Linked DNA regions of Homo sapiens: all the other regions are linked to region 1. Evidence: promoter capture Hi-C in human tissues and cell types (Jung and others, 2019). All regions are on one chromosome and are shown on one strand. The core of a region is centred on a gene start or on the middle of the fragment in contact, and the rest is flanking DNA. Distances in the headings are between cores, read along the strand shown.

Region 1 (6,544 bases), core at 2,370-4,869:
GGTTGCAGTGAGCCAAGATCGTGCCATTGCACTCCAGCCTGGGTGACAAGAGTGAAATTCCATCGCAAAAAAAAAAAGGCTCCAAATTCTAGTAGGAGCTATGGAAGATGAAAAGTATCGTATTAATATCCACGATTTATTGAGTGGATATAGTCTAGCCCTTAATCCTCATACCAACCCTGTGGGATGTGTTATTGGCGTAATTGCTAATACCACATACATTGTTACTGTCAGGCCTCTGTGCCCAAGCCAAGCCATCGCATCCCCTGTGACTTGCACGTATACGCCCAGATGGCCTGAAGTAACTGAAGAATCAGAAAAGAAGTGAAAATGCCCTGCCCTGCCTTAACTGATGACATTCCACCACAAAAGAAGTGAAAATGGCCGGCCCTTGCCTTAAGTGATGACATTACCTTGTGAAAGTCCTTTTCCTGGCTCTTCCTGGCTCATCCTGGCTCAAAAAGCTCCCCCACTGAGCACCTCACGACCCCCACCCCTGCCCGCCAGAGAACAACCCCCCTTTCTTTGACTGTAATTTTCCTTTACCTACCCAAATCTTATAAAACGGCCCCACCCCTATCTCCCTTTGCTGACTCTCTTTTTGGACTCAGCCCGCCTGCACCCAGGTGATTAAAAGCTTTATTGCTCACACAAAGCCTGTTTGGTGGTCTCTTCACACAGACGCACATGAAAGTTACCATCGCCACTTTGCAGATTAGAGAACTGAGGCATAGAGGGGGAAAACAATTATCCAAGATGATCATAAGAGGTGGAACAGGGATTTGAACCTAGTCACTCTGCCTCTAGATCTGAAGCTCTTAATCAAGGAGCCTGGGCTCTTGTTGGAGAAAATGCTTTATCGATGTGAAAACATTCACACACAATGCCTGATAGCATTGTGCTGAAGTGTGGTTCCAATTATAAACGTGGTAGGAATTCAGTCTGGAGAGGAACTCCCAGTGCCTGGGCATGACTGTGTGCTAGGCATTGTACTGGGTGTTTTTCATCCTTCCCATTTAAGGAGACGGAGCATGGCATATATGAAAGGAGAAGGGGGAGCTTTGGAACTGGACAGGTAGGGTTTAAATCCTGGTCCTGCCATTTACAAACTGTGTAACCTCTGGGAAATTACTTAACCTTTCTGATACGGTTTCTTCAATTGAAAATAGGGATTGTAAACAGCTACTTTACAGAGGAGGGTTTACTGTCATAAAACAGTACCAGCCTATGGTAGATGATGCTGTTGATTCAATAGATACTGATGAAGTCCCACATATCTGGGAGTAACACTATCAGCCAGAATAAGCCAGGTTATGCTGCTTTAACAAATCCCACTGACTTAACATAAATAAAGTTTAATATTTGCTGACACTACTTTTCCAATGCAGATTGGCTGGGATTTTCTGCCATCTTTACACAGAGACTCAGGCTGGCTTGGGGAGGCTCCAACTTTGTACCACCATGATTGTCAAGATAGGAAAAAGAAGACATGGGGATTTGCTCACTGGCTCCTAAAGGTTCCAAGTGAAAGCAACACAATCACTTCTGCTCTCATTCCATTGGCCTAAGCAAGTCCGATGGTCTCATCTAACTTCAAGAGGATGGGGTAGTGGATTTCTACCACATCGCAGGGGAGGGGAAGAAGTAGAAAATATTTTAAAATACTACTGTAGACACAATGTGTTTATCTCTACAATAGATCTGCTAAATCCATATCTTAAGAGAAAACCGAAGCTCTGAGAGGTTATGTCATTTGACCAAGGCCACACAGCCAATCCTCTGGGAAGCCAGGACTCAACCTGCATGCCACTCATCCTGACTGTGGGATCTATAGGCACAACGTCCACAAACTGTATAGAAGCAGAACAGTTTCAGGATGGGGGTGGGTGGCAGGGAGGCCCTGCAAATGCGGTGGACAGAATAGGAATTGAATAGGCATGATGCGCCTTTGTGTCTGTGTTCTGTCATTGCTCCTGGGGAAGGGAAGAAGGGGCAGGGAAGTTTGTGTGAAATATCAGTAGAAGGAAAGTTTGGACAGGTAAGAATATCACGCGTCAGAGTACAGCAGAGACACGTGTGGAGGATGAGGGCAGTGTTTCAGGCCATTACTCTGGCAGCAGTGAGGAGGCTCCCGGGGAGGGTTGGGGAGAGCGGGCTGTTGCTGGAGTCCGGGGTAAGGTGACCAGGGGTAGACAGGAATGAAGGCGGCGGGAATGTAGAGGAAGGGCTGCACCTGAGAGCTGCAGAGGAGGCCCCAGTGAGGTCCACTGGTGGAAAAGAACCGCCATGCGATCTGCAGAACACCAGACCTTCTTCAGCCTTCACTCTTCCCACCCTAGTCTGGTACATTGCACCACTTGTTAAAAAAAAAAATTTCCCTAAGACCTCTTTTTCTCTAGCCTTCTTCCTTATTTTTCATGGTCTCTTCTTAGAACGGCGGCAGCCACGCCGCGGTGGGAGGCCCTTCCTGCCTGACCCTTACCGTGCGGGGTACCGTTCCTGTCACCATCGCCAGGATCTGGCCCTTTCAGTGAAAGGAAATCTCCCAAGGCCTAAGGAGGCAAGAGGCCTGCAAATCGCCTCCTGCTCAGCAAACGGGTTGCTCAGCAGGCCCGGGGTCCTGGTCCACCCCAGGTCCCTGGTTTGCCCACCTCCGATGGCGGCCTTCGCTGGCAGGGTGGGCGCCTCTGGGGAGCCAGCTCCGTCCCGGCGCCTTTAGAGCCCCATCTCTTCCACGTCCCTGGCCTTCCTCCCCTTCCAGGCGGCTGTCCCCGCCGGGGTCCAGATGGTGTCGGAGGGCCGGCGGTTCGACGGCGGGCCCGGGGTTCAGCCTCCCGGCCTCCCTCCGTCCCTGACTCTCCTTTCTTCGGAGAGGGCGCGGGGGCCGGGGCCAAAGCGCCGCTCTTGGGGTTCTCCTGGACTCGGAGTTGCCCCAGGCGGGCGCAGCTCTGCCCCGCGGGGTGCCAGCCTCGGGCGGGCAAGGTCCGTGAGTCACCGCCTGTAACCGAACACCAGGCCTCCCTGCCCCCTCCCCCAGCTCCGGCCGCCAGGCTGCGGCGACACCTACAAGAAAATGAAGGGGCGCCCAGGCCCGCGGCGGCCCCGGCCGTATCGCGAGCAGGTCCCGGCGGCCCCCGGCTCGCGGCGCTCTTTCTTCCCCGGCCCCGGGGCTCGGCCAGCCGCAACCGCCGCCCCGGCGCCAGCAGGAATCCAGGCCGAGCGACCGGCCCCGGAGCCCGAGGCGGCGGAGGGCCCGCGGTAGCTGCGACTGGCGAGCCCGAGAGCGCCCGGGGAGGGGGCGCCCGGCTTGGAATTTCCCGGTCCCTTCCGGCCCAGCGAGGACAAAGCACTCCTGGCCGCCGCCGCCGCCGCCGCCGTGGCCTACGCCGCGCCGCACAAAGGGCGAGTCGCGACACGCTCCCATCCCCCTCCCAGCTCACGGCGGCCCCGGCCCCGGGTGGCTGCAGGGAGGTGGGGGAAGCCCTGGCTGCACCGCCCCTCGCTCCCCCTCCCCTGGGGCCGCGCGAGCGCCGCCCCCGCCCCGTCTGCGCGTCCTCCCGGGGAGGGGTTGGGGGGCGCGGCGCCCCACATAACACTCCCCCTCCTGCGCTGCGAGCCACCCTCTCCCCTCCCTCCTGCAAACACCACCGCCTCCCCTGCCACCGCCGCCACCTCGCCCGACGCTCCACAGCTCGCCGCGGCCGGGGGGCGGTGCGCGGACCGTGCGCGCCGCGGGCGCCAGATGTGCAGTCCCCGCCGCCGCCAGTGACCGAGCCGCAGTCCGAGCGGTATCGGGCCGCCTCCCTGATGCTGCGGGGGCGACCTTGAGCGTACAGCGGCTTCCCTCGGTGGGGACCCCGACATCCCAGCGCTGTGCCCGGTCTTGCCCTCTGTAGCCCGGCTCGCCCCGCGCTTGGACATGGAAGGGGCCGCCGCGCCTGTGGCGGGGGACCGCCCCGACTTGGGGCTGGGGGCGCCGGGCTCTCCCCGAGAGGCGGTGGCGGGGGCGACTGCAGCCCTGGAGCCCAGGAAGCCGCACGGGGTGAAGCGGCATCACCACAAGCACAACTTGAAGCACCGCTACGAGCTGCAGGAGACCCTGGGCAAAGGCACCTACGGCAAAGTCAAGCGGGCCACCGAGAGGTTTTCTGGCCGAGTGGTGAGTGGGGCAATCCTGGAGGGTGCGGGGGGCGCTGGGTGGACGCGGCCGGGGACTGAGGGCGTGCGAGGCGGGGGTCTGTGCGCCCTGGGGCTCTCTTGACAGAGAGGGGGCTCATTGGGAAGCCCCGAGACAGACTCCTCACTCTTTCTCCAGCACCCCGTGACTCAGGCGTGTCTCTGTCCTGAAACACTTGTTACATCCTGTCTGCACATATTTTATTTTATTTTTTGGTTTGTTTTTAAAAATTTAATCCTAGCAGCAAAGGAATGTTTTAGATTTGCAAACACTTTGCAGCGTTGGGACGGCCGGGGTCTCTCTCCCTCGCAGGCACTCATTTAGACCATGCCCCGAAACGTCTTATTTCCACAACTCTCCAAAGAACCACATTCCCAGCTAGGAGCTAGCCCCTCAAGTCCGGTGTTTTGTAGGTGTCCCTACCCCCTTCCACCCATCTGCCCGCAGCTCCTTGCTCTGCATCCTCCCACTCAGACTCTGCATCGCCCTGATACTGCTGTGACTGCAAGGGAGGGCGACTCTTGCCTGTTTTTGAGACAAGGTTAGGGAGCAAAAATAAAGACTACTGCAAGCCTGAGGATTCTAACAGTTTGCATCATGGCTTTGGGAGGACCGAAATGTCCAGGGCATGGGTAGCTACAGAGATAGCTGTGCTTAGTTGCAGCAGGCTCAGTTGTGTTTCAGCTCCTGGTTGCAGGGCTACCAAACCGCTGAAGGGGTCTGGCCCCGCTGCTCTTGTGACAGCTGACACCCTGCCAGGGTCCTGGCACCATTTGCACAGCTCCAAGGAGTGCTTTGAGTGCCTTGGGGTCTGTCTGCCTTGTCCCAGCCTTGGTTTGTTGTTATTTTCACTTCTGCAGAACAGGCCCTTGAAATCCACACTGCTTGTGGCTAGAGAGTTGGGTTCAAAGTGACTGACTGTTGCAGAAAGATTTTGTGTGGTGTGTGGCAGAAAATTAACATGGTTCTTTGATTTGAAGCAGATCAGATGTATTCTAATCGATTTAGGGCCAAAGTCAGAAACTGATTATGGGACTCCTTGTGTGCACTTTTGGGGGTGTTTTGGAGGCTCAGGTTTGCTTATAAACAACAAATGACTGCAGGGAAAAAGGAAAATGAGCTGTCAAATAAAATAGCAGCTTAGTATTGACATGTTTCTTTTGCATTTCGGCAGGAACAGTTCTGTGAAAAAAACATGGGGGTGCCAGTCAGCAAAGTTCAGTCCCCAAATTCTCAAATATCTGGATACCCGGATAACGCCCTCCCAACCCATTTCTCAGATTTGATGTTTGGGTCTATATAACTTCGTCCCATAACGTTATTTTAAAAAAAAATCTGTTATCAATTAATTGGAAATTTGAGATGGCGTACATTTCTTTTTAAAGCTGGCTCTGTAATAAATTCTACAGCAAGCAAGTAGTTGAGAATTCACTCTGGGCAGGTGCCATTTTCGTAGGATGAAATTGTTAAAGGGGAGGGTTGTAAGGGTGGCCTCTGATGAAGGCAATTTCAGGTTTGTGGAAGAAGAGGCTGGGAAACGTGCACTTCATTCATGCTTTTCTTCTGAGGTGATATTCCCCAGGCTGGATGTTGAATAAGCAAAAACTAAGCTTAGATCCCTGCTCATGTTGTCTTAATAGCTGCTGAAGAATCGCACTGGGAAGGTGGGAAGCAGAATAATGAAAAACAGACGCAGTTCGAGCTGCAGGTTGAGAATGTGAGGCTATGAGGGGTTGTTGAAGTGGTAAGGGTGTGTCTAGGGTCTGTGAAGGGACCCCAAAGTCTAAATGCTGGGGCACTACCTCAGACCTTTCTAACGAACGAACCCTTGTCTTATGGCAGACGCCTTTCTGAGCGTCAGTGGGACTTCCTGTCAGGCGTTCTTGAGCTGTCTGATCCACAGACTAGGTTAGAGTGAAAGGGATTTGCATCAGTAGGCAGGAGTCCGCCTTTCTCTTTTGGGGGATGTCTTTCTCTGTATTTGCAGAAACTGAACATTCCGTCAGGATTTAGTCAAGCGGCCACGAGGGGGCGCCCTGAGAACGAGAGAGGCTTCTTTACCAGCCGCAAATCTGAAGTCCCGCTGTGTTATTGTTCAGCCCTAGTTCATTTTCCCATTGTGCTATTAATTTCAGCTAAATCTCTTGTTTTACCCCAAAATTATGTAAAGATTTTAAATCTGGCAGCAGACCCACGCCCAGAAACTGACAGTCTCTAAAATGCTTCGTTTATTCATGGGGCTGCTTTCTCCTTGATAGCTGAGCTTACAGAATGTTAGCCAGATCCCTGGGTAAAAACCTTGCATAAAACAGATGGGAAAACTGAGGTTTGGGGAAGGAAAGTCCTCCTTGGCCCCCCGTCCTCCCC
Region 2 (6,544 bases), core at 1,646-4,145, 790 kb after region 1:
AAAAAATTTTCAAAAACAGAGAAAGGAGGGCAAAAAAATCATAAAATTCAAATCTTTTTTTTTTTTTTTTTTTGTTTCAGATACAGTCTCACTTCGTTGCCCAAGCTGGAGTGCAGTGATGCAATCTCGGCTCACTGCAACCTCTGCCTCCTGGGCTCAAGTGATCCTCACACCTCAGCCTCCTGAGTAGCTCGGAATACAGGTGCATACCACCATGCCTGGTTAATTTTTGTATTTTTTCTTGAGATGGGGTTTCACCATGTTGCCCAGGCTGCTCTCCAACTCCTGGGCTTAAGCAATCCTCCCACCTTGATTGCCCAAAGTGCTAGGATTACAGGCATGAGCCACTGCACCGGGCCTCAAATTCCAATCTTAAATTTCAAATTTAGTTTAAGTTTCAAATCTTAGCTTTGGAATCTATTCCACCCATCTTTAACAGTTCCTGTAAATTACAAGGTGCCAGTTCTGAAAAAGATTTTACAGATCACATTAATCCAACCTCACATTTTATGAATTTTAAAACTGGTAGACTTCGAGAAACATTTTCTTTTTTAAGCCATACACCTTTTAAGTTGGTGTCTGCACGGCAGGTTAAGTCAAACTGTGCGCTAATGCAAGCAATGGACTAAATTAATTAGGAAGCCTCAAACACACCAGCCTAGCTCCAAAAAGAGTCACATGCATCTCTAACTCTGCTCCCATTGGCTTCCCATCTGTGATGGTTAATACTGAGCGTCTACTTGATTGAACTGAAGAATGCAAAGTATTATTCCTGGCTGTGTCTGTGAGGGTGCTGACAAAGGAGATTAACATTTGAGTCAGTGGACTGGGAGAGGCAGACCCACACTTAATCTGGGTGGGCCCCATCTAATCAGCTATCAGCACAGCTAGAATAAAGCAGGCAGAAGAAGGTGGAAAGAGCAGACTTGCTGAGCTTTCTGGCCTTCATCTGTCTCCCATGCTGGATGCTTCCTGCCCTCGAATATCGGACTCCATGTTCTTCAGCTTTCAGACTCTTGGACTTAGACCAGTAGTTTGCCAGGGGCTCATGGGCCTTCAGCTATAGACTGAAGACTGCACTGTTGACTTCCCTACTTTTGAGGTTCTGGGACTCGGACTGGCTTCCTTGCCCCTCAGCTTGCAGACGGCCTATTGTGAAACTTCACCTAATGATCATGTGAGTCAGTCCTCCTTAATAAATTCCCCTTCATACATTCATCTATCCTATTAGTTCTCTCCCTCTGGAGAACCCTAATACACCACCCATGTGACAAAAACAGCTCATCTCTTCTGGTCTCCATCCCCATTACTTCTCGCAGATTCTCTGCCCACATTTCCTCCTCCCAATATCTTTATCTGGGAGGCACAGGACTTGGTTCCAACTCCTACAAGATATATGGTATTAAGCATCCTTTAACCTCTTAAAACCTCACCTCCCTTATGTCAAATGAGGGTAAAAGGTATCTTTCTCAAAGGTTATTGTGAAGATTTAAAAAGACAATGTGTAAAAAGACAATGTAAACACTTAACACAAAGCTGGCACATAAAAATAGCAAACTAAGTTATTATTAGACGTCACACTTAATATTTCAATTTCGATATATATTAAATAGAAATTAAAATAACTTCTGCACAAGTCACAGAGGTGTAAAAATAAAGGAAGATGTGCTACAAAGTAAGTAAATAAGTCTGTGGGTAAAGTTATTGCCAAATTGCAAGAACAATCAAACAATGATATTCATTTTGCATCTGTAATACTGCAAATTAAAAGCTGATCCTAAAGATAATTGAGGCTATGTCTCAAACGAATTCTTTTAAGGCTTTGACTAAACCTAAACTTTGTAATAATCTTAGTTCCTTTCTTCAGGGAAGAACATTTCTGTGCCACCATTACTGTTAAAATGATACATTATGTAAACTACTTTAGAATCAGAGATTATTAAACCAAAAGATCCTAAACTTAAAAAAAAATCTTAACACAGGAAAAACTGCCAACAGTAGAGTGTTTTTGATAGAAAAAAATTAACAAAAATTAGTGCCACCATACACCCGTGAAAATGAACGTTTTATTTTAGAGTCAAGCATGAGAATCTAGAAGAAAATCTGTGTAAATCAAAAAGTATTGAGATAGGTCTCAATCAATTTAGAAGTTTATTTTGCCAAGGTTAAGGAATGCCTGTGATACAGCCTCAGAAGGTCTGGAGAACACGTGTCCAAGGTGCTCAGGCTACAACTTGGTTTCATACGTTATGGGGAGACATAAGAGGCCAATCAATACCTGTACGATGTACACTGGTTTGGTCCGGGACAACTCAAAAGTGGTGGGGGTGTGGGGGGTTGTTTCCAGGTGATAGGTGGATTCCAAGATTTCCTGATTGGCAATTGGTTGAAAGAGTTTATTTAAAGATCTGGAATCAATTGATTCCTGGAATTGTCTTGAGTTAAGATAAGGGATTTTGGAGACCCAAGGTTTTATTTTGCAGATGAAGCTTCTTTAAATGTTTCTTATCAGACTTAAAAAAGTGCTAGGCCGGGCACGGTGGCTCACGCCTGTAATTCCAGCACTTTGGGTGGCCGAGGTGGGTGGATCACCTGAGGTCAGGAGTTTGAGACCAGCCTGGCCAACATGGTGAAACCCTATCTCTACTAAAAAAAAAATACAAAAATTAGCCAGGTGTGGTGGTGGGCGCCTATAATCCCAGCTACTTGGGAGGCTGAGGCAGAATTGCTTGAACCCAGGAGGCAAAGGTTGCATTGAGTTGAGATTGCACCACTGCACTCCAGCCTGGGCAACAGAGCAAGACTCTGTCTCAAAAAAAAAAAAAAAAAAAAGGCCAGACACTAATTCAAGATCAGGAAAAAGACCTGGAAAAGGAAGAGAATTTATCTACAGAATACAGATTTCCCCCCACAAACGACAGCTTTGCTTGACATTTCAAAATTTATGTCAAAGAAATATATTTTGGGGTAAAATACTTTGACTTCTTTTTTTTTTATATTTGTTTTTGGAGTCTTATGCTGCCACCCAGGCTGGAGTGTAGTGGTGCCATCTTGGCTCACTGCAACCTCCGCCTCCTGGGTTCAAGCTATTTTCTTGCCTCAGCCTCCTGAGTAGCTGGGATTACAGGCGTGCACCACCACGCCTGGCTTATTTTTGTATTTTTTAATAGAGACAGGGTTTCACCATGTTGCCGAGGCTGGTCTCAAACTCCTGAGCAGAGGCAATCCAATCACCTCAGCTTCCCAAAGTGTTAGGGTTACAGACATGAGCCACCACACCTGGCCTGACTTCTTTCAGAGCCTGCTGTCATGTTGGTATCTTACTGCTACAAAGAGTCTGCTTTGTCAGTCTTAAGGTCTGTTTTAATGTTAAATGCTGGTCAGTTGTGCCTGAATTTCAAAGGGAAGAGGGTATAATGAGGCATGTCCAATCCCCACTTCCCATCATGGCCTGACCTAGTTTTGCAGGTTAACTTAGGAATTACCTTGGCCAAGAGAAGGGGTCCATTTAATTGGTTGGGGGGGGGCTTAGAATTTTCAGCTTACGTCTAAAAAGAAAATAATATCTTTTTAGCTTTTATTTTTTTATTTTTGTGGAAAAGGATAAAGAGTATGTTTGGGTTTTGCTGGAGTCAGGGCAAGGGAGAACCAGAGATGAGCCTTTGACTCTGCAAGTCTTACAGAGGGAAGAAAACAATGATTATAATGTGGACCATGAGTCCTCAACTTTTTTTTTTTTTTTTTTTGACACAGAGTCTCACTCTGTTGCCTAGGCTGGAGTGCGGCAGCACAATCTTGGCTCACCACAACCTCTGCTTCCTGGGTTCAAGCGATTCTCCTGCCTCAGCCTCCTGAGTAGCTGGAATTACAGGCACCTGCCACAACACCCAGCTAACTGTTTTTGTATTTTTAGTAGAGACAGGGTTTCTCCATGTTGGCCATGCTGGTCTTGAACTCCTGACCTCAAGTGATCCACCTGCCTTGGCCTCCCCAAGTACTGGGATTACAGATGTGAGCCACTACACCCGGCCGAGTCCTCAACATTTAAAGATGAGGGGTGACCTAGTACAATCCACAGGAAGAAGAGAGTGGCCAAGGCTGCCCTGCTACATCTCAGGGATGGCAGAACGGTGATGGGGTAAGAACAGTGTGGAATCAGAAGGCAGATGACTGGAGTCGGATCCCTATGCCAGTATTTGTCTGACAGTCACTAAATCACTTTGTTTCAGCATCTAGTAAATGAGGACATACTGGGCCAACAAATGCAGCTAGGAAGGCAAAGCACAGTAACGTGTGTGAAATGAGAAATGAGTTTACAAATGGCCACATGTTGTGCATTCAGTGCTTATTTTAATCAGCATCAGGAACTCTCCATCCACTTCACCTTGATTGCACCAAGCTATGGGCACCATCAAGGGCCTCCTCCCTGCTGGGCTCACCATTTAACATCCCAGCAGGCCCAAGGGAGATGCATGGTGCCACCATTTAAAACAAAGTCAACAGACCATTCCCTCTGTTCTAAAATGGCCCTCATTTGAAAGGGCATCATCAACTGAATAACTGCAATGGTAGGGGTGGGGCAAAGAAGTCAGAAACACTCCAAGAAGTGTGTGTGTGTCTGTGTGTGTGTATGATTGTAAAATGTGCTCCATTTTTTAATAGGAAAATGTGCATCTTAGAAGCAAGGTAACATGGTGGTTACTGAGAAGCTTGTAACCAGGGTAATGAGAATATGACTCCCTAACACACAACTTCCCAAAAGAAAAAAAAAAAGGTTGCAAATGTTGGAAACCCTAAACAAAACTATCAGAGTACCTAGGTACATAAAATGCAAAGCATAAGTTTATTTGTCCTGTAAAAGTATAAAATCATAAAATGATCAGAAATAAAATTACCCTCACTGCAACCTTTTAATTACACTTTGCTTATATATTTATTGTAATTAACCAAATGGCAATCCCTAATCTAAGTAATTATGCAAAAAGTGCTTTGATCAAAATTAGATAGTGGCAAGATCCCATTTGCTTTAAACTGTATCTGTGGTTCATGTGCTTTATCATTTATTAAGCAAATATGTATAATGTTACATCTATTTTTTTCCAGGCCACAAGGATACATCATTCATCCTAATACCACTTCATGTCCTGCCAAATTGGCTCCTTACTGTTTAAACATAACCTTGGTGGGTTAATACAATGGGCCTAGGGCCTCAGGAGAAGTAGAAATGAAAAAAAGGTAACAATGTTTCTTGTGGGGAAAAAAAACACACCAAAAAATATAGAGAGACTATTATAATTTGGAGGGGAGGGGGTCAAAAGATTTAATGACTATTTCCCAAAACTGTAGAAATGATAATCATAATTTTAAATATCTTCCTAAAAATGGAGAGGGGAAAGGTTTGTTCTCAGGAAAGTATTATATGCAGTTTCAGTAATAAAAATTGTAAATAGAATGTAAAGAAGGACATTTCCATCACTGTTGGTTGTTTACAGTATCACTTCATCTCACCTTGGCTCTGTTTAGCTTTTACTTTCCACATTTCAGAAGATTTTAACATTTTATTCATCAGTCTCAATGACAGAAGTCTCAGTTAATTAAAAATGCATAGCAAATCCCATCTATTCAAACATTCAAAAAACTTAATCTGATATTGCAGTTTCATCATAAGATATTTGGTCTTTGCCCCTGGTTCCTGGCACAGAGCTCCTAAAACCCCTGGAATTTCCTGAGTGATGAGTGACAGGAGCCTCTCTGTGAGGCTTCTAATGAGATGACTCTTGGCCAAGCCCCTATATGGCTTCAGGATGGGGGCTGTTTGCTAGAAAGACCAAGCCTTGATTAGAAGCTTGGAACATTGAGCTCCACCCTGCCACCTGCAGAGAGAGGAGAGAGGCTGGAGATTGAGTTAATCACCAGTGGCAAAGGATTTAACCAGCCATGCTTGTGTCTTGGTCCTTTTTGTGTTGCTGTTATAGAATACCACAGACTGGATAATTTATAAAGAAAATAAAATGTATTTCTTACAGTCTAGAGGCTGGGAAGTCCAAGATTGAGGGGCTCACATCTGGTGAGGGCCTTTATGCTCCTTCATCCCATGTGGGAAGGCAGAAGGGCAAGACAGCAAGAGCGCAAGAAGGGGCCAAACTTGCTTTTACAGCAACCCACTCTCTCAATAACCAGCCCACTCTCTCAATAACCAACCCATTCCATTCGTCCCCCAGTTTATTTATGATTAAACACATTAATCCATTCATGGGAGCAGAGCCCTCAAGCCCTAATCACTTCTTATTAGGTCCCACCTCCCAACACTACTGCATTGGGTATTAAATTTCCAACACATGTTGGGGAACGCACTCAAACCACAGCACCTACGAAAACCTCAAAATAACTGGATGTATTAGTCTGTTCTCATGCTGCTAATAAAGACATACCCTAGACTGGGTAATTTATAAAGGAAACATGCTTAATTGACTCACAGTTCCACATGGCTGCAGAGGCCTCACAGTCATGGTGGAACACAAAGGAGGAGCAAAGTCACATCTTA
Region 3 (6,544 bases), core at 1,020-3,519, 770 kb after region 1:
ATTTCATGCTTTTTCATAAAACATAAAAATAAATAATTAGGGAAAATCAACAGCACATGATTTCACTTACTTTTCCGAACCGTCTTTGTTTGACTGGACACCATATTGACAGCTTCAGATGGTAGGCCAACATATACTCCTCCATAGTTTCTTGATAAAAAGAAATCAAACCAATTTAAATGGTACTATCTATTTACAGGAAGCAACAGAAGCACGGAGTACTCCAAACAATTATATAATTATTAAAATAACTCATGATTTTTCAAAAGTAGAATCTAGAATATTATGGCCCTTGGGAATATAATTGGTTTCCTAGGTTAAAAAGAAGCTATTTTTTTTAAAAAAAAGAAAGATGTATTGCGTTAGTAGAATTTTTAGATATTTTACTTGTAATGAGAAAGAAGAAAAGACTTTGGGATGTTACAATTTATTAGAGTATTAAATATCATACAGTGACATGTTACAGTTAACATTTATCAATAATTCAGAGTGGTCAACATGGTATGATATTAGGCATTATGGACACACAAAGATATCTTACTAATAGAGAGATACAAAATGAGGGCAGAGACAGCAAGAGAGAAATGAGGGTGGAGTGCAGTTAATCAGAGAAGTAGGAGGACAGGGAAGGCTGAGAGAATGAAGGGAAGTCATCCAGTTAGGGAGAAGAGCACACCCAAAGGTCATAGGATGAAAATTAGCACACGCCACATGCATAGGACAAAAACCAAGTTTGCTTGGAAGGAGCAAAGATGATGAATCCTGGGCAAGTTCTTTTTCAGACCATATGCCCCTACCTGTATTCTCTGTGCCAACAGTTTTCCTGGCAGAATCTGTGTTATTGGGAATATGCTACAGTGTGTTAAATCCATGAGGTATGGCCAAAACCATTCAAACTAAAGCCAGCTGCAATACCAAACATACCTCCTCTTGTCATCTTCTGTTACGGATTCTTCTGTTCTAAAAGGTCAGAAACATTTGCTATGAGACACTTGGTTACATAGTCGGGGACTTCATTTTTGGTTATGAGAAAAAGGGACTACTGAGTTGAAGTCAATTTTATTTCAAATGTTTCCATCAGACTTAAGTAGAGGAGCAAAACTATCCATCAAGTGTTTCTGTGACAATATTCTGCCTTCACCTCAATCATTCATACGTTAAAACTTGGTAATTTTCTACAAACCAAAATGTGTGAATCCAGCAAATGCCAAAATGCACAACTGCCAAATGAAATGGAAAACTGAGGGCAGCTGAAATTGGAAAGAAGCCTGAGTTATCGTCTTGTGTGTACCACCCACTCCCTGTGTGACAGACAGGCTGTGGGCGAGCTGCCAGCCTGTGTCTCATTTGTAAAATAAGCTGGTTGACCAGATGACCCCTCAGGTCTCTTCCAGTCCTAATACATGGTTTTAGATCTCTTATGACACTTCAGTGGCACAACTATAGGTACTGAAAGACTTCTTCAGTGCAAAAAGAGTTAATGCCTATTTGATTTTTTTTTATCTAAAAACATGAGCCATTTCATACATGATCTACTGCAAAGAGAGGGAGAAATATTTAAAAGGATACATTTAGAGGGGATCACTACTTTAAAATGCACAGCTTCTCTCCTTGCATTAAGAGGAATCCAAGCTGGACATGGTGGCTCATGCCTGTAATACCAGCACTTTGGGAGGCCGAGGCGGGCGGATCACCTGAGGTCAGGAGTTCGAGACCAGCTTGGCCAACATGCTGAAACCCCATCTCTACTAAAAATACAAAAATTAGCCAGGCATGGTGACGCCTGTAGTCCCAGCTACTCAAGAGGCTGAGGCACAGGAATCCTTGAACCCGGGAGGTGGAGGTTGCAGTGAGCAGAGATCACGCCATTACACTCCAGCTTGGGCAACAGAGGGATACTTGGTCTCAAAAAAAAAAAAAAAAAAAAAAGGAGTCCATATTCTACCAGAATTCCTTGGCGTATTTCTAAGAGAATCAGGACACTTTCCTTGAAGCACTAGTTGGCATACATAAGTTGCTTTTCTGAAAGAAAAAAAAAATAATTCAACAAGATTCCAATGTATCTGGCTGAATTCAACTTGTAACACTAAGGGGCTTCAGTTGAGCAAAAAGCAGACTGCAAACATCTAAATGTCATTGACTCTTCTGATTCAGAGATTGTCTAACTATGATTTTACCCACTTAAAAGCTGTGAATATTTCAAATGTGACTGTATATGTGCATGAGATTTTTGCTTTATTGCAACAGCCAGTAAGTCCAAGTCTATAAAGAAGGAAAGTGTAGATTTAATAATTATCTGGTGAACGCTGGCCATGAACAGCTAATACTGGAAGAGAGTGCAAAATCCATCTTGAGACCTAATTCATCCAAACTGAGCATATAACCTAAATTCACTAGATGGTTATCAGCTTCATTTACCTCTTAACGCTGGATTGTTTTTTTAGTTCAAGTGTCAAAGTCATACTAATGGTGTTATGCTTATTGATGTGGTATAAGAGAGAGTTGTTCACTACTTTTAATTAAAATGGATTTATAATCCTTTAGCATAGATAATGGAGAAATGATGAGGACAAACTCGTTCAAGGTAAGTTCTGATAAGAACTGTTTACTTTGGTCCTGAGTGATTAACTTTCTCAAGAAATCACTTGAATCTGTATATAACTGGTAGCTTATGACACACATTTCCGGCCATGACTATTCTTTTCACATCCATTTACATATCCGTTTATTTTAATTCTTTCCCCTTTTGCTTAACTGTGCTTAAGGATATATTCAAGGTTTTAAAATATATTTTCACTTTCCCAAATGTAAGAAAATAGTCATTTACTTTCTCCTGTTAAATTACTCAATATCTTAAAACTCAATCTGTGTTCTCCATTATAAAATTAATCAACAACCTTACATGTATAACTGGCAGGAAATGATAATGTAGTTGCCATATTTATTGGATAATAAATTAAGCTTCAGATATAATGCCAAATCTTAAAAAAAATACTACCTATAAAGACTTATAAGATGTCCACTCTTTTTTTTTTTTTTAATTAAGACAGAGTCTTGCTCTGTCACCAGCCTGGAGTGCAGTGGCACAATCTCGGCTCCCTGCAACCTCTGACTCCCTGGTTCAAGTGATTCTCCTGCCTCAGCCTCCCGAGTAGCTGGGATTCCAGGCCCGTGCCACCATGCTCAGCTAATTTTTGTATTTTTAGTAGAGACGAGGTTTCAACATGTTGGCCAGGATGGTCTTGATCTCCTGACCTCGTGATCCTCCCACCTCGGCCTCCCAAAGTGCTGGGATTACAGGCTGAGCCACCCCGCCCGGCCAGATATCCACTCTTTTAAACCTTCCAGTAAGTTGTAAAGCCTGTCTTTGCATACTCACTCCCATGTATAAGACTGTCACTTCATCCATTCCTTCCACAAACAGTTATTCTACAACACTAGGACTAGAGACCAGGACTCCGTGGGTATAATGGTGTCATTCATGAGTCTCTCCTGTGTGTCAGGCACAGTGCAGGACACTGCACGTGCATCCATGCTATTCCTCACAACAGCTCTGAGGGCCTAGGCCTGAGGAACCAGGTGCAGAAAGCCATGTAATTCATAAACATACAAGACTAACAAGCATGACCAACATCCATACCCCATCCATCTGGCACCAAAGCCATGCTCCATTCTCATTCACCACTCTGCTTCTCAGGTAGAAAGATGTAAAAGTCAAAAACACTTCCTGTGAAAGACCAACGTAGTGGCTTCTCCTAAAGTGGGCGATTCACCTCCATACTGCTTTTGCAAAAGCTTTGACCATCATCCCATCTCTCAACCTGATTGTGTAACTATACTAGGCACTTTGCTAATCCTATTATATTAGTTCATTTAATCCTTATACAATCTTGCAAGACCAGTACTACTCACATTTTAAAAATGAAAAAACTGAGTAGCATGACCGAACTTACGAAGCTAAATCATAGAGCCAGAATTCAAACCCAGATTTGTGTGATCCTAATTCCTGCTTCATACACTGTAGGCCCATGCTAATTTGCATTAGAGAAACATGCACCTTCCCGCAGCTGGAGCTCTCCAATTTTTTTTTTTTTTTTTTTGAGACGGAGTCTTGCTCTGTCACCCAGGCTGGAGTGCAGTGGCGCGATCTCAGCTCACTGCAAGCTCCGCCTCCCAGGTTCACGCCATTCTCCTGCCTCAGCCTCCTGAGTAGCTGGGACTACAGGCACCCGCCACCACACCCGGCTAATTTTTTGTATTTTTAGTAGACAGGAGGTTTCACCATGTTAGCCAGGATGGTCTCAATCTCCTGACCTCATGATCCACCCGCCTCAGCCTCCCAAAGGAGCTCTCCAAATTTTTTTTTTTTTTTTTTTTTTTTTGAGACGGAGTCTCGCTCTGTCGCCCAGGCTGGAGTGCAGTGGCGGGATCTCGGCTCACTGCAAGCTCCGCCTCCCGGGTTCACGCCATTCTCCTGCCTCAGCCTCCCAAGTAGCTGGGACTACAGGCGCCCGCCACACGCCCGGCTAATTTTTTGTATTTTTAGTAGAGACGGGGTTTCACCGTTTTAGCCAGGATGGTCTCGATCTCCTGACCTCGTGATCCGCCCGCCTCGGCCTCCCAAAGTGCTGGGATTACAGGCGTGAGCCACCGCGCCCGGCCAGGAGCTCTCCAATTTTTATCATCCCACTCAAGAAAAGTCAGAAACAAGATTGTAGAAGAGTCCTAGTCTGTTTCATCAGCATGAGAAACAACCTCTAACTGCTGCCAGGGACCATCAATCTTCGCAGATCTTGTCAAATTGCCACATAAGTCATTTTTATGCAGGTACAAAGGTTGTTCTGATGAGCAGTTACATTAGAATCTATTCATCTGGACAACCAGGTCCAGACTAAGGTTAAATCAGAAAGCGGTGGTTGGTCTAAACCAACTCTTCCTGCGGAAGGATAGGTCCAAGCCCTTGTGTTGAGCTGCCTGGGGAGAGAACCAAATGCTGTCCTGCCAGTGTTCAAAGGGACACAGCATCCTACCTGTTGGGGTGGTGTGGTCCTGCCCCACCTGCACAAGCTTTAGCGTAAGGAAGAAAAATGGGTCAATACACAGCAATAAAGACCCCTGGTAAAAGGAAGGCCCAGACATGTTAAGCCAAAGCTCCTGACAGGCCAATGCGATTGCCTCAGGTTATTAGGTTTTTAGGCTCCATAGTCTAAAAAGTCTAAAAAGCACACCTTCTGGTGGGGGGACTCATTTCCCTAAAGGTCGTTTTTTTGGTAAGAGAAGTGGCTGTTCAAAACTGGGATGTTAAATTTATTTTATCACTCAACACTTTTACAAGAAACTTTAAGTCTTTGGGATTTGAATCCTTGTTCTCAATTTCTCAAGTGTTGAATAATGCCCCAGCTATCCAAACAACAGGGCTGCCCCATCTGCAAACCATTTTAAGGAATCAACATACCTTTTTCCCCCTCACAAAACTCTTTATTTTGAAAGATTTTACCTGCCTTAATAATTTCAGCCTGGGCAACACGGCAAGATCTTATCTCTACTAAGAACACAGAAAATAAAATAAAAGTAGCCAGGTGTGGTGGTGTGCACCTGTGGTCCCAGCTACAGGAGGTGGCGGTGGGAGGATCACACGAGCCTCCCTCTTGTGAGGGAAAAGGGTACGTTGATTCCTTAAAATGATCTACAGGGCAGGCGCGGTGGCTCACACCTTTAATCCCAACACTTTGGAAGGCCGAGACAGGCGGATCACCTGAGGTCAGGAGTTCGAGACCAGCCTGGCCAACATGAAGAAACCCCGTCTCTACTAAAAATACAAAAATTAACTGGGCATGGTGATGTGTGCCTGTTATTTCAGCTACTCGGGAGGCTGAGGCAGGAGAATCGCTTGAACCTGGGAGGCGGAGGTTGCAGTGAGCCGAGATCGCGCCATTGCACTCCAGGCTGGGCAACAGAGACAGACTCGGTCTCACAAAAAAAAAGATCTAAGATGAGGCAGCCCAGATGTTCACCTGAGCCCGGGAGACAGTGGTTGCAGTCAGCTGAGATCACGCCACTGCACTCCAGCCTGGGTGAAAGAGCAAGGCCCCGTCTCAAAAAATAAAAATTGTAATAATTCACTTGTCAATATTTTCTTACACATGTAAGTGCCAAAAGGAGCTTCTGATGGGCATGGGGGAACTGAGGTGCCCACAGGTAGCTTATGTCATTCAAATCAAAGGCAAATAAATTTTACATTTACAGGTACACATCACCGTAGGCACACATAGATTTCTATTAGGTTTCAGAAGTTACAAAAATAGTGTCTGGTCCTTCTTCAGCCCTGAGGATCCAGAATGTCTTGCTGGAAATGGCCATGCTCAGGCCAGAACATCCACAGCCACATAAGCTCCTGGATGAGCCACTCCGTTCTTCACCAAGGATGTGATTATTTTCTTTTCTGGTCACTACAGCTCCAGTTGTAGGGCAGTGACCACTGCATGCTCTGCAGCCGTGATTGCTGATGGACTGCAAAATTTGTCCCCCAAACCAGAGAAAGAAA
Region 4 (6,544 bases), core at 2,436-4,935, 520 kb after region 1:
CCCCCTATCTTAACCCAGACACTCCCTTCTATTGATTCCAGGTCTTTAGATAATAACTTAACTCTTTCAACCAATTGTCAATCACAAAATCTTTGAGTCCATCTATGACCTGGAAGCCACCCCACTTTAAGTTGTCTTGCTTTTCTAGACTGAACCAATATACATCTTACATGTATTGATTTATGTCTTATGTCTCCCCAAAACATATAAAACCAAGCTGTAGGCTAGGTGTGGTGGCTCGCACCTGTAATCCCAGCACTTTGGGAGGCCAAGGTGGGTGGATAACTTGAGATCAGGAGTTCGAGACCAGCCTGGCCAACATGGTGAAACCCTGTCTCTACTAAAATACAAAAATAAGCCAGGCGTTGTGGTGGGTGCCTATAATCCCAGCTACTCAGGGGGCTGAGGCGGGGGAATTGCTTGAACCCAGGAGGTGGAGGTTGCGGTGAGCCAAGATCATGCCATTGCTCTGCAGCCTGGGAAACAGAGTAAGACTCCGTCTCAAAAAAAGAAAAAAAAAAAAAAAAAAACCCAAGCTGTACAATCATCTTGGGCACATGTTCTCAGCAGGAACCCTGAGACTGTGTCATGGATCATTGGTCATCATATTTGGCTCAGAATAAATCTCTTCAAATATTTTACAGGATTTGACTCTTTTTGTAGACACATTTCTTCCTTTTCTGTATGAATGTCTTTCTTTTTCTTACCTAATTGCTCTGGAGAGGACTTTTGGTATGATATTGAATACAAATGGTGAGAATGGGCATTCTTGTCTTACTCCTGATCTTAAAGGAGAAGCTTTTGACTTTTCATCACTGAGTATGATGTTAGCTATGGGCTTGTCATGTACGGCCTTTCTTATGTCGAGGTACATTCCTTTTATGCCTATTTTTGAGAGGGTTTTTTTTTTTTAACCATGAATTAATATTGAATTGTGTCAAATGCTTTTTCTGCATCTGAGGTGATCATGTGGTTTTCATCCTTCATTTTGTTAATATGGTATATTACATTTTTTAATTTATGTATGTTGAACAATCTTTGCATTCCTGGAATAAATCCCACTTGATCACAGTGAATGATCTCTTTAATGTGCGGCTGATTTTGGTTTGTTAGCATTTTGCTAGGGGTATTTGCATCTATGTTCATTGGGAATATTGGCCTATAGTCTTCTTTTCTTGCGGTGTCCTGTCAGGAACTTAACTATGAAAACCAGCAGAGCAAAAAGTTTCCAAATCATGTTAAAATTTATTTCTTCAGTTACCAAGGGGAAAAACAAATGTGTATAGAGCCCATTTATTTGTATCAGAATGAACTTAAGAAGAAGCAATTTAAGGCCAGGTGTGGTGGCTCATGCCTGTAATCCCAGCACTTTGGGTGGCCGAGGTGGGAGAATGCTTGAGCCCAGGAGTTCAAAACCAGCCTGAGCAACATAGGGAAACCCTGCCTCTACAAAAAAAGTTTGAAAATTAGCTGGGAGTGGTGATGCGTGCCTATGGTGCCAGCTACTCAAGAGGCTGAAGTGGGAGGATCACTCGAGCCTGGGAGATTGAGGCTTCAGTGAGCTATCATCACACCGCTGTACTCCAGCCTGGATGACAGAGCAAGACCCTGCCTCAGAAAAAATACAAAAAAAGAAGAACCAATTTATACTTAACAATTTTCTAGAATAAGCAAATGAACCCTGCTTCTAAGATCTTACACATCAGAGTACCAAGGACAAAGAGGCAAATATGGAGTAGATAAGTTGAAATATATTTATGAAAAAGTACTTTTCTAAATCTGAAGTTTTTCAAATGTACTCATACGCATTGTCTTATTTGATCTTCCAACTTTTTCTGATGCATGTGTGGTATCTGTTATTCCTATTAAATCCATTTTTTACAGTTAAAGCTTGGATAAGTTACTACCAATAAGTGGAAAATTAGGATTTTGATCCAGATATTTCAAATCTAAATCCTATTTCCCTGAGGCTCACCAGGCTGCTGAAAGCAGTTGTATATATAGATAAGGTAAAATATTTACTCCAAGACTAGAATGAGTAATTGAGTATCAAATGGAAATGGGCAGCGCTATTGGATGTTCATGTTCACATAAGGTGAGATTGAACTGATTGGAAATACACCTGTGTGTGCAGTGTGCATATGATGTTTGCATATATGAATATATTTTATATATGTACACATACATATATATGTGTTTGTGTTTGCATTATACTTGGGACTATACATATATGCAGTTGGGCAAATCTTAAAATAAGCGTGAAGATATCATAAGCTGATTTAATGGAGCAGAAACGAATGAGAGAAATTTGGGAGAAGAATCAGAGAGCAAAAAGGAAAGATTAGAAGTGAAAAATGAGAAATGCTTCCTCCTGCCAGTCAGTCCATCTGGATCTAAAGAGTCTAGCACTCAAATCACTGTTACCTCCACACCCATAGCAGAGCTCATTCATTGTTCAGGGCAATCTTTCCCACTAGCTTGGATACAACCACAGAGTCCACCCCAAAAGTGCCCCAAGCAGCCATTACCAACGGATCAGAGAGCACTTGCAAAGCCTCTCCAACACTGCCCTGGGAGGCACTCACTGACTTTACTCTCAACAGTATTTTAAATTGAACTCAGTGGACTACAAGGACCTCCCATTTAGATTCATTCATTCAATCAGTCATTGAGCAGTTAATATGCACTTTTCTAAAGCTAGTTTCTCCTTTTCTGGGTCTTAACTTACATACCACATCCTCAAGGAAACTGCTTCCTGATCCTGTTTATGGTACGGTGGTCATCCCATTTCATTATCTCAGCACCTGTTTTCTTTCTTTTTCACATTTTTTTTTGCGGGGAGGGTACTGTGTTTTCTGTCTCCCTCACTAGTCTGAAACAGAGGATGTGCATGTCACAAGCTCCATTGTATTTTTGGCACAGTACTCAGCACATAGTATGTGTTGAATAAGTACTGATTCAATGATTGAATAAGCAGATGAAGTAATAAATAAATACTCAGTGCTTGACCTCAATTGGCTCACAGTCAAGGGCAAGAAGTTTTTTGTTTTGTTTTGTTTTGTTTGTTGTTGTTTTTGTTTTTTCAGAGATGGTGTCTTGCTCTGTCACCCAGGCTGGAGTGCAATGGCGCAATTTCAGCTCACTGCAACCTCTGCCTCCCAGGTTCAAGTAATTCTCCTGCCTCGGCCTCCCAAGTAGCTGAAATTACAGGTGTGTGCCACCACACTTGGCTAATTTCTGTATTTTTAGTAGAGATGGGGTTTCGCCATGTTGGCCAGGCTGGTCTCAAACTCCTGACCTCAGGTGATCCACCTGCTTCAGCCTCCCAAAGTGCTGGGATTACAGGCGTGAGCCACCGCGCCCGGCCAAGAGGTTCTTATGCATACAGATAAATGACACTTTCAACACCATCAACAAGCTCAGAGAGCACACTGAGCAGAGGATTTTGAGAGAACAAACAGAGGACAGCTGGAAGGCTTTCCAAAGAGATGATGCTTGAAGGATGTGTAGGGAGAAGCAAAGCAAAGAAGTGAAAAAGGATATTCAAGTCCAGAGGCAAATTTAAAACTATGGCATTGAAGATGAGCTATGCTTGAGTGAGGCTGAAACAGAGGAAGCCACAGTGGGGTGGGGATGGACTAGTGGCCAGTTGGGAGGGTACTAAGGCAGAGGGGCCACACCAAGGAGGGCTACCAGCTGCTTGTTTTTTCTCTCCCCTCTTGCCAGCTCCCACCTTTCCTCCCCTTGAACTGTCTGGCCAGGAATCCCATTCATTTTTGCAATGAACTTGCTGCTCTTTGGTAGACAGCCTAAGCCCAGAAATGGAGTAAGATTACCTTTGTGTTTATTTTAGTCTCACTTTAAGGATCTTATCTCTAGCAAATCCCCCATTATGGTTCACCATAGCGAGACACATAGGAAGAGCCACTTTTGCAAAAAATAAAGGTCCAATGATTTTCCCCAACCCCATTAAACTGTCATGAAGTTATGCTTTATTTACCAATGCAGATTCATTGCTTGCAGTCCATGGGCCCCAAGGCAGGAGGACAGAAATGAAATCCTGAGGTATACAATCGTTGTGGTGTCTGGACTTTGGGGGAAAATTTTTCAGGGTTTTATGAAGAATTAGCTTTCATACTAAACTTTATTAAACTTTATCACTGAATTCTTTCCCTTTGGAAAGGGCTTTTCAGCTATTAAGCCTGGAGAACAGCCCACGTCGGATTAATTCCAAATGAAATGTAGTGGAGGATCTGGAATCCTCTGAGCACAGACACATAAGTCTCATTAAATGTGTATAGATGCTCACAACAAAGCCCAGCTCAATTATACCCTGAGAACGGCGCTCAGAGAGACTGACAGGGTTGAGGCCTGGCCAGGGGTCTCCCGGGCACACACAAAGAAGCTTCAGGGAGAATGCAAGCATCACTCTGCCCCACAAAATTTTCTTTGGCTAATTGTAAAGGAAAAATTACTTGGAAGTGCCAATTAGCCTCACTTCTTTTTGTCCATTTTAATTTCATTCCCCTTATCAAATCAAGATCTGTGACAGCTTAATCCGAACTCAAACTCTCGGTCAAATATTTAGAGGCCGAAAGTGGTGAAGAAAAATTCCAAGTGAAACCCCAGGCTGGGACCCAAGTAGAGAACTAATTCACCTTGATGAAATAATTGCATTGCTAATACCTTGAAAGAAAGAAAATTATTTTCTCAGACAAAAAGAGCTGACCTCCCACTTTCACCCCCTACGCTCTTCCTGAGAAGCAGAAATCATCAATCCTCAACTGGTAGCAATAGAGAACAAATATTTGGGGTCTCTGTTTTGGTCTTGGGGCTTGGTTGGTTTGGATCCTATTTTCAACAGCACTTTTTCCTTAAAATGTAGCAAATATTACACAGCTAATAGGAAATCTACTTATTCTTTTCACAGGCCAAATAAGCTTGGAGAACATACATTCTTAAGGCGTGTGAAGTTTGCTTTTGGCACAGAAAGCGATCCAGAAAGTCATGCAGAGAGGGCAGGACTACATGGTTGAGAGCTTCTTGGAGGCAGAATGAATCAAGAAAAGGTTCTTTAGCTAAATAATTACTGAGCCCTTTGTGGACACTAAATAAATGGTACCTATTAGCATATGTCTTTAACTCCCAGACCTACAACTTTTTCCTGTTTTAATCTTTCTGGAATTTCAGTATGTCTTGTCATTAAAATGTTCATTGATTTAGTGTAGTAGTGTTTCTTTTCTTTCTGAAAAGCTATTATTAAATTGAGAGTGAATCTTGTAATAGATTATACCTGATTATTAAAGAAATATCATTATTAATACTGTCATAGTTGTTATTATCATTATTTAAAGTTAAGACATGACACAGAGAGATATCTCATGGGAGGGGACTTTGATGAATTAGTAAATGGACAATTAAATGACCAGGAAGGACCTCGAGTACAATGTTTAGGAATTTGTAAATTTGTGGTCTGTAATGTTTGATGCTTTCTGAGCAAGGGAGTGGCACACCTACAGACATTTATAGTAGTGATATGGAAGGCAGAACAGAAGAATGAGATGCTGGAGAAAAAAAGAACAAAGACTATAAAAATTGTCCTGATGAAAGTATGAGAACCTGAGCTACAGTAATATCAGTGTTCAGACAAAGAGACGTGGCAAGGCTTGTGGGATTTTTGGAAGATAGAAAGATCATAATTTGATGACCCACTGATGTTGACAGCCTGCCTTGATTTCCCATTTCACACATAAGCGAGTCTCCTTATGTAGTATAAAGATCAAAATGCACAATCTGACTGGGGCTCCAGGCCATGAGTCTGGCACACATTTTACATTTTAAAAGCCCTGTGTTCGGCAACTCACACTAAATCTCTCAACCATCCAACTTGGGACTCATAGAGCACAGCGGGTATGCCAACACATGAGACATCCTTGAGGCCAGAGAGAAATGGTTGCTCATGAGGCAGGGAAAAATCTTTAAGGTATTATTGCTGTGTCACAAGGAGGAGATATCTAGAATGATATGTAGAAAGCTCTGCCTCCACTGAAACCTCACCAAGGATAAGATCACATCTGAAGTTGAGGTAAGTTTTCAACTCTCAAGGAATTAATTATATAGATCTAAACTACAGTAGAAAAAAATCACTCCATGGTTTAATGTGCATTTCAAATAAAATTCAGATACATAGAATGATATGTAGAGGACTCTGCCTCCACCAAAACCTGATAAATGAATTCAGTAAAGTTGCAAGATACCAAATCAACATGCAAAAATCAGTGGCATTTCCACAAGCCAGAAGTGAACAATCTGAAAAATAAACCAAGAAAGCAATCTCATTTACAATAGCTACAAAAAATACCTAGGAATTAATTTAACCAAAAAGGTGAAAGATCTCTACAAGGAAAACTATAAAACATTGATGAAAGAAATTGAAAAGGACAAAAAAAAATGGAAAGATACTTTACATTTATGGATTGGAAGAATCAACATTGTTAAAATGCTTATACTACCCAAAGTGATCTGCAGATTCAATGCTATCCCT

Evidence for each region. Contacts are between HindIII fragments. The study calls those that stand out against the background at their distance.
Region 2: a fragment that was not itself captured here is called in contact with the fragment with the promoter of NUAK1 in region 1 in 1 of the 25 tissues and cell types used here (adrenal gland).
Region 3: a contact is called between a fragment that was not itself captured here and the fragment with the promoter of NUAK1 in region 1, in 1 of the 25 tissues and cell types used here (liver).
Region 4: a contact is called between a fragment that was not itself captured here and the fragment with the promoter of NUAK1 in region 1, in 7 of the 25 tissues and cell types used here (H1 embryonic stem cells, IMR-90 fibroblasts, aorta and 4 more).

What each region holds. Positions count from the first base shown.
Region 1 is chr12:106,136,029-106,142,572 of GRCh38, reverse strand. It overlaps NUAK1 (NUAK family kinase 1), which reads left to right and starts at 3,619. Exons shown (of 7, transcript NM_014840.3): 1 at 3,619-4,159. The coding sequence starts at 3,920. RefSeq lists enhancers at 1,678-2,297, 4,689-5,190. The HindIII fragment of the contact is 8,166 bases long and covers 1-6,544 here.
Region 2 is chr12:105,341,948-105,348,491 of GRCh38, reverse strand. The region is part of intron 1 of C12orf75 (chromosome 12 open reading frame 75); the gene reads right to left. Among named protein-coding and RNA genes, the nearest start is that of C12orf75, 15 kb to the right of the region's middle. RefSeq lists an enhancer at 4,183-4,739. The HindIII fragment of the contact is 4,765 bases long and covers 513-5,277 here.
Region 3 is chr12:105,360,223-105,366,766 of GRCh38, reverse strand. C12orf75 (chromosome 12 open reading frame 75) reads right to left here. Exons shown (of 6, transcript NM_001145199.2): 3 at 925-960; 4 at 71-150. Among named protein-coding and RNA genes, the nearest start is that of C12orf75, 33 kb to the right of the region's middle. The HindIII fragment of the contact is 8,128 bases long and covers 1-6,333 here.
Region 4 is chr12:105,620,885-105,627,428 of GRCh38, reverse strand. No RefSeq gene overlaps it. Among named protein-coding and RNA genes, the nearest start is that of CASC18, 80 kb to the left of the region's middle. The HindIII fragment of the contact is 4,682 bases long and covers 1,345-6,026 here.